2 separate regions of the Homo sapiens genome follow, and region 1 is linked to region 2. Evidence: promoter capture Hi-C in 16 types of primary human blood cells and fetal thymus (Javierre and others, 2016). All regions are on one chromosome and are shown on one strand. Each heading gives the region's core, a stretch centred on a gene start or on the middle of the fragment in contact. The rest is flanking DNA. Distances are from core to core; before and after follow the strand shown. Region 1 overlaps LAG3 (lymphocyte activating 3). Region 2 holds the start of PIANP (PILR alpha associated neural protein).

Region 1 (3,671 bases), core at 499-2,998, 77 kb after region 2:
GGACTCCCCTGCTCTCAATTGGCGGGAGGGTCTGGGAAGTTAGAAGGAAAGGTGACAAAAATTCTGAATGGTTCGAAAGAGGTAGAATATATTTCTAGAATCCTTGTCTACTTTGCAGCCAGGGCTTGGGTTAGAGTTGCAGGAAGTGGCCTGGATTTGGGAGGAGTGAATAAATCCGTCCCTTGGTCAGCAAATATTTACTGAGCAAGGGTTTTCCAAGACAGTATAAAACAAACACAGAAAAAAGAATACTCAGAGAGTATGTGTTGACTGGTTGATAACTATCGGCCATGACAGATTAGCCATGTCTGCAGCACGCACCTGCGGCCACTCAGTAGTAGCACCCCACGGCAGGTGCTTAATAATGTATAGAGATTGAATGAATACGTGAACATGCTAATGGATAATACATCTCCTGAAGGCCAATCCTGAGTTTTCACTTGCTTTCTGGATACCTCTAACTAGATGTTATACCACCTCTCAGCCGCCTTACCCTGAACCCCAGCTTTTTCTCCCACCAATCCCCTTGCTGACTCAGCCTGTCAGTAATCCACTGGTATCCATCCACCTCGAAACCTGGCCTCCTCCTCTCTACATCCCATCAGTCATCAAAGTCCACCAGTTCTTTCTGTCCAATGCCCTCTTGAAGGTCAACTGTTTTATGTAGACGGCTCAATGAGAGAGATACTGTTACCCCGAAGACTTTCTCAAAACAGCTGGGAAGTGCCAGACTCTGGGTCTAAACTCAGGTGTCTGCATCACCAAATCACTCTCCAGGACACTACTCAGATGCCCTTCACCCTTTGTCTCCTCCCACCCACCCATCTCTCACTTTACAACTTGGAGAATGCTCTGTCTCTAGATGAATGGGTCAGTTCCCTGTTCTCTATACCTTCAGAAAGGGGGATGATGTTCATTCAGGGGGCACCACAAGGCAGGGGACACTGATGTGAGCCGCATCATGGAAGTTCCAAAATTGTGAAGTAGATGGGGGTCAGCTCATCTGACTGATTTTGAGGGTTCTGAGCATTTGAGTAGAAAGTAATGTAAAAGAATCTGTAATAGTATTTATTCTGTGGTCTGCCAGGGCCAGTTTGAGTGTGAAGGCAGTAGGGAGCCTGGAAATGTTTTGAGCAGGGGAGGGAGCTGACTAGAGCATTGTCTGAATAAGATAAATGTGGCCGGCAGGGCATGATGGCTCACACCTGTAATCCCAGCACTTTGAAAGGCTGAGACGAGAGGAGCACTTGAGTCCAGGAATTCCAGACTAGCCTGGGCAACATGGTGAAAACGCATCTGTATACAATTTAATAAAAAAATAAATAGAAAGAAAAAGATGAACGTGGCCATGACCCATGATGTCCTTCCCCAACCTCCCCTGGCCAGAACCCAAGTGAGTGCAGGGTGATTGAGACTTGGGGTTCAACCTGTGATATCACGTAAGGGGGGCAGAATCCCAAAAGATCTCTTCCTTCTACTCTTTTCAGTGACTCCCAAATCCTTTGGGTCACCTGGATCCCTGGGGAAGCTGCTTTGTGAGGTGACTCCAGTATCTGGACAAGAACGCTTTGTGTGGAGCTCTCTGGACACCCCATCCCAGAGGAGTTTCTCAGGACCTTGGCTGGAGGCACAGGAGGCCCAGCTCCTTTCCCAGCCTTGGCAATGCCAGCTGTACCAGGGGGAGAGGCTTCTTGGAGCAGCAGTGTACTTCACAGAGCTGTCTAGCCCAGGTCCGAGGCCCCAGAATGCCAGGACCCAAACGCCACAGCAATAATCTTTATCCTCCTTCCAGAACAGCCCCTGCCACCCCCATCCCAGCGCTTTTCTTTCCAGTCAGGGACCTGATCTCTGGCTTTTGCCTAGGGTTGACCCGTTTCCGCCACTGATCAGCTGAATGACCCTGGGACAAGTCCCTTAAACTCTCTGGATCTCATTGCATCTGTAAAGTCTGAGAGAATGACAAAGTGTCCTTTCTAGTCCTGACCCTATGCCTCATCCTGTACTTTCTCCATAGGTGCCCAACGCTCTGGGAGAGCCCCAGGTGCCCTCCCAGCAGGCCACCTCCTGCTGTTTCTCATCCTTGGTGTCCTTTCTCTGCTCCTTTTGGTGACTGGAGCCTTTGGCTTTCACCTTTGGAGAAGACAGGTGAGCCAGGGACATGGCAACCCCGCCCCCCAGCAGCTCCCGCTCTTCCATCCTCAGAGTGCTGATGGCACCCCTTCCTCAGGAAGGTGACCAAATGGGACCCTGAACTTGCCCTCAGAGCCCCCCTTCTTCATAAGCCTCTCACTCCAGGGATGGCTTGTGCCTGGGTAGGCTGGAAGGGGGGTTGGGAGAAAGCCAGGACCAGATGGGGAGGGCAGGGGCGCTGAGAAAAAATAGAGGGACTCAGTGTCCCTCCTCATCCGCTTCCCTTCATCCTTCTCCTCCTTCCGCCCTCCGTCTCTCTCTCCATCTCTTCTCACAGTGGCGACCAAGACGATTTTCTGCCTTAGAGCAAGGGATTCACCCTCCGCAGGCTCAGAGCAAGATAGAGGAGCTGGAGCAAGAACCGGAGCCGGAGCCGGAGCCGGAACCGGAGCCCGAGCCCGAGCCCGAGCCGGAGCAGCTCTGACCTGGAGCTGAGGCAGCCAGCAGATCTCAGCAGCCCAGTCCAAATAAACTCCCTGTCAGCAGCAAGCCTGAGTCTGGCTCTTTCTTGTCCAAGTGAAGGTTCCCGTCTCTCCCCAGCCTCTGAGGGCTCCCTTCTCCCACCCTAGCCTCCTAACCTACTTTCCCCAGCCAGCCTCCCTCACCTTCCCCTTTTCTGTTTCTGGCTGCTTCGTGTTTCTTTCTTGGTCTCTCTCTCTCTTGCGCTCACTCTCTCTTTCTCTCTCCTGGGTAATCATTTCTCTGAAGCTCCCCCGAAAAAGCCCTTGCCCCTTGCCTCCGCAGCTCTCTCCTCCGTCCTTCCACCCACCTTCCACCCACAGTGCGCTGGCTGCCCTGGTTTCCTTGATATTTTTGTCCTTTGGGTCCACCCCACCCCACACTCAGCTGCACTTCAGCACTTGTCCTTGGCCCTCCGGCTGCAGCAGATGCGCACATATGCTCGCGCGCACGTGCACACACACATGCACACACACGCGCGCGCGCACACGCACACACACACACACACACACACACGCGCGGCGCGCAGAGGACTGCCTTGTCAAGTCTTCCAGGAGATCCGGTCTGGAAACCTCTCTGGGCAGCCGGCTGGGGCTCCTACCTCTGCCCCACCCCCCACGTTCCTCAGCCCTTGGAGGCTTTTCTGGTCCCAGGCATGAGAACACACTGCCACCCAGTGGTCACTGCTTGTCACACCCCAACGGAGGTCACTGGGCCGGCTGCGGCAGGCCTGAGGAGTTGAGCAGTGCAGTGGACAAGGCAGGGCACAGACTGCTGTGAATGCAGGCACCGCCTTTGTATTATGCACGTTCTATGTGCAGCATATGAGTATGTGCCCGGTGACTGTCACATGTCCTATGCACCCTTCAGGAGAGGGACTGAACAATGCATGTCTCAGGAGATACAGCCCTGGCTGGCCCTCTCAAGGGTGTAATCTATGTCTGACAAAGGGGAAGGCTGTGAACAAAGGCCTGTGCGTAGAGCAAAACAGCCAGCTGCAGCTGTGGGAGTCGGGAGCCCCG
Region 2 (3,809 bases), core at 1,214-3,713:
TGGCTTCTCTGATTTCCCTTCTTCTCACTTCCTCTGCCCACAGCTCCAGGCTTTTCTTGGATCTTAATTTAGAGCCAAGAACCTTGTGATTCCTTGAGCACCTACCGCTAGGGAGGGAGTCTGAGGGTAGGGGGAGGGATGGGGAAGTCAATCTGAGCAAGCCAGTGAGTGTGTGTACGTGCAGGGGGGCCCTTCCAGCCCTCCCAGCCCTCCCACCCCTCTGGCAGTGCCAGGCATTTGTCTTATGATTAGCCCCAGGAGTCTGCATCTTCAGGAGAAAGGAATGAAGAGCTGGAGGGATGGAAGGAAAGAGACAGAAAGAGAGAGGTGAGTGGGAGAAAAACTACAGAATATAATTTTTGCTCTTAATGTTTAATCATCCAAGTGCATAGGTGCCCTCTGAAGGGAGGTGGAGTCAGGAAGAAACCACCCCCTCAAATGTGGCTCTCCTGGGTAAAGAATCCTGGGAAAATCGGGATGGTTGGTTTTGAAAGAGAAAGGGTGTGTTCTCAGAGCTGAGGGTGGTGGATCCAGGAGGGGCAGGCTCCCCAGAGGGAGTGAAGATAGGATACCCGTTTCCTGTGGATTCTGGGTCTAAATCTGCCCAATGGGCCAGACGCAGTGGCTCACGCCTGTAATCCTAGCACTTTGGGAAGCCAAGGCGGGTGGATCACCTGAGATCAGGAGTTCGAGACTAGCTTGGCCAACATAGTGAAACCCCGTGTCTACTAAAAATACAAAAATTAGCCGGGGGTAGTGGTGGGCGCCTGCAATCCCAGCTATTCAGAGGGCTGAGGCAGAAGAATCCCTTGAACCTGGGAGGCGGAGGTTGCAGTGAGCTGAGATCACACCATTGCACTCCAGTCTGGGCAACAAGAGCGAGACTCCGACTCAAAAAATAAAATAAATAAATCTGCCCATTGAATCTTCCCAGAGAACAACAAGGGAACAAGATGGGAAAGTCACGGGAAGGGCGTGGGGAAGCAGGCAGTGGGAGAGATGGGAAGGGGTGAAGGGCTGGGAGATGGAAGGCTGGTTAAGAGTGAGAGAGGAGAAATGTGAAGAGGAAGCTGGCCTGGAGTGCAGGGTGAGAGAGAGCAGGCAGTCCTGAAAAAGAGAGAACTGGGAAGAGAGGAGGAGAGTGGGTACAGAAGACTCGAACTGTGGAGGATGCCGAAGGGAGGAAAGGATGAGAGAAAAGGTCAGGGAGGGGAAACGGAGAGGATGAAGGGGTCACAGGTGCAGGGGAAGAAGGGGCAGGAGGAGAAGGAGAGAGCGGTCCAGGCAGGACAGCCAGAGGAGTGGAGAGTAAGGGGATGGGAGAAAAGGGGGGAAAGCCCAGGATGGGGAGAAAGGAAGTGGGGAAGGAGAGAACATAAATGCTTAAGGAAAAATGACACGAGGAACGGGCTGGGAAGCAGAGGCGGGAGCAGCAAAGATGGAGGAGTTCGGAATTGCTCCCCCAAATGTAAAGGGATGTGGAGATACCGAAAGACATAGGGATGGGGGCATGGTGGGAAGAAGGGAGAGAGAGGGGAAAGGAAGAAAGCTAGAGGGAGGGAGCGAGGCGTGTAGAGCGAACCAGTGAAGCGGAGAAGGGCTCCCAGGGCGCATCTGTGGCCAGCTGACTCTAGGACTATCGCCCCTCCGCCTGTGCATCCCCACCCCCAGCCAGCGCCAACCCAGTCCCTGGGCCCCGCACAGCTTCAGCCGCCCCCTCCAGGAAGCCCGCAGTCCCCGGGCTGGCGCGCCACCCCCACCCCTCTCCCAGCTTCTCACCGACCTGTTGTGCGCAGGAGACGAGCTGGGGGTGGGGCAGGAGCCTCGGGGTGCGGGAGCCGGGCCCCAGCCCCAGCGTGGCCCCCATCCCACCCATCCCGCAGGCCCGCACTCCCCGCACAGGGCTGGAGAGCGGCGAGAGTGGGGGGAGACGAGGAAAAGGAGGTCGGCGAAGGGACCCCGAGGCAGGGAGTGCCGAGAGCGGACTGGGGACCCGAAGCAGGAGACTGCGCGGAGCCGCCCGCCGAGCCGAGGCGGGATGGAGGCAGCCGCGGGGACGGGGACGGCTGCGCCAGGGAGGGCGGGAGCGAGCCAGGACCGCGGAGGGATGGAGAGCCCTTCGGGGAAGGGGCGCTGGGAGGCTGGAGGCCTTGTCCCGGGCGAGGGACCGCGTCGGGAGGGGCAGGAGGCGCAGGGCGCGGAGCCGGGAAGGGCAGGGCCGGGCTCCCCGCGGGTGGGGGCGTGGGGGTCCCTCTCACTCACCTGCATGCTTGGCGCGGCGGCGCGACGACTGCGGGCGCTCGGGACTGAGCGGGGCTGGGGGGTCGCAGGAGCGGGCGGGGTGCGGGGCATGGTGGGGAGGTTTGGCCCGCGGCAGGGCGCTGGAGCGGGTGGGGGGCGGGCGCCTGGGGCGCGGGGCGGCGGCGGTGGGAGATGCTCGCCTCGGCTCGGCTCGGCTCGGCTCGGCTGGGCTCGGCGCGGCGGCTGGGACCGCTCCGTCTCCGTCTCCGCCTCCCCCCCGCGCCGGAGGCCACGCACGGTTTAACCCTCCTGCTGCCGCGCTGCAGGAGTCAAGCCAGGCTATGTCCCAGGTGGAGGGCTGAAGAGGCTGGCAGGGTCCAGCGACCGTCCGCTTCCCTGGGTTCTGATGGCAGTCTCCCCACCTCCTTCACCCCAACTCCAGGGACACCCATGGTCGCCTCAGTCAGTTTCTGAGATTCTGAGTCACTCAATGCTCTGCATTCCCAACTTTGTTCTTTTGTATTGTGTTTTGTAGAGATGAGGTCTCGCTGTGTTGCCCAGCCCGGTCTCGAACGCCTGGGCTCAAGCGATCCTTCCCGCTCAGCTTCCCGGAGTGCTGGGATTACAGGCGTGAGTCACCACTGCCTGTCCCCCAACTTGGTTTTGCCCGCTGTAGAAAGTGCCTGAGGTCAAGGCTGGGGGCAAGGGGTGGAGGAAAGGACTGGGGAGGAAGGACCTTGCACCATCTTTGGATTATCCCCACAGCTTGATCCCCTATTTCACTCTGGCCCTGCTACCATGCATTAAGTGGATCACGTCGAAATTCCTGGGCTTTTCCAGCACTGGAATACCTAGACTCCGTGCTGTGACTTACAAGACCCTATATAACCTGGCTCTTAGGTGGCTCTCTGATTGCCTTTCCTAAAGATTTCTATGCTTCAGCCACATGGGACCTGGTGGATTTCCTGGTTGGAGACAGGTTTAACCTGCCTCAGGGCCTTTGCACTTGCTGTTCCCTCAGTAATACATTTCCCTGGCTTTTCACAATGACTTACTGTTTTCATTCCAGTCTCACTTAGATCCAACGCCTTCTGGGAGGCCTTCCCTAATGTCTCTATCAAAAGTAGCCTCTCCTGCCCCTTCTCCCACCACCTGGATCCCATCCCTCTCTACCACACTACGCTGTTTTTCCTCAGGGCACTTCCAGGACACCACACTCTCCTCATTTCCCTCCAACCTCACTGACTGTTCTTAGTCTTCCTCGGGTGACCTCTAAATGTTGGAGCCTCCTAGGGCTTAGTCCTTGGCCATTCTCTCTTTCCACATTCTCTGTCCAGTGATCTCATCCGGTCCCAGGGCTTAAATACTATGTAAATGTCAGTGAGTCCTAAATTTATATCCAGAGCGCCAGACTCATTTATCCGACAGCCTACTTGACATCTCCACTTGGATGTCTAATAGCCATGCAAAGCTAACTTGACTAAAATAGATGTCTTGAATTCCCCCACCCCCAATCCATTTTTCTCCCAGTGATCCCCATCCTGAGGCTTCACAACTACTAGTTGTTC

The links. Contacts are between HindIII fragments. The CHiCAGO score rates a contact against its expected background, and 5 or more counts as called.
Region 1: a contact is called between a fragment that was not itself captured here and the fragment with the promoter of PIANP in region 2, in 10 of 17 cell types (activated CD4 T cells, naive CD4 T cells, naive CD8 T cells and 7 more). The highest score is 9.8, in activated CD4 T cells.

The regions. Positions count from the first base shown.
Region 1 is chr12:6,775,777-6,779,447 of GRCh38, forward strand. It overlaps LAG3 (lymphocyte activating 3), which reads left to right. Exons shown (of 8, transcript NM_002286.6): 6 at 1,488-1,730; 7 at 2,015-2,145; 8 at 2,468-2,679. The coding sequence ends at 2,614. Among named protein-coding and RNA genes, the nearest start is that of LAG3, 5.1 kb to the left of the region's middle. RefSeq lists enhancers at 2,538-3,188, 2,937-2,986, 3,189-3,671. The HindIII fragment of the contact is 5,544 bases long and covers 1-3,671 here.
Region 2 is chr12:6,698,352-6,702,160 of GRCh38, forward strand. PIANP (PILR alpha associated neural protein) reads right to left here and starts at 2,464. Exons shown (of 5, transcript NM_001244014.2): 1 at 2,263-2,464. RefSeq lists an enhancer at 1,244-1,745. The HindIII fragment of the contact is 12,862 bases long and covers 1-3,809 here.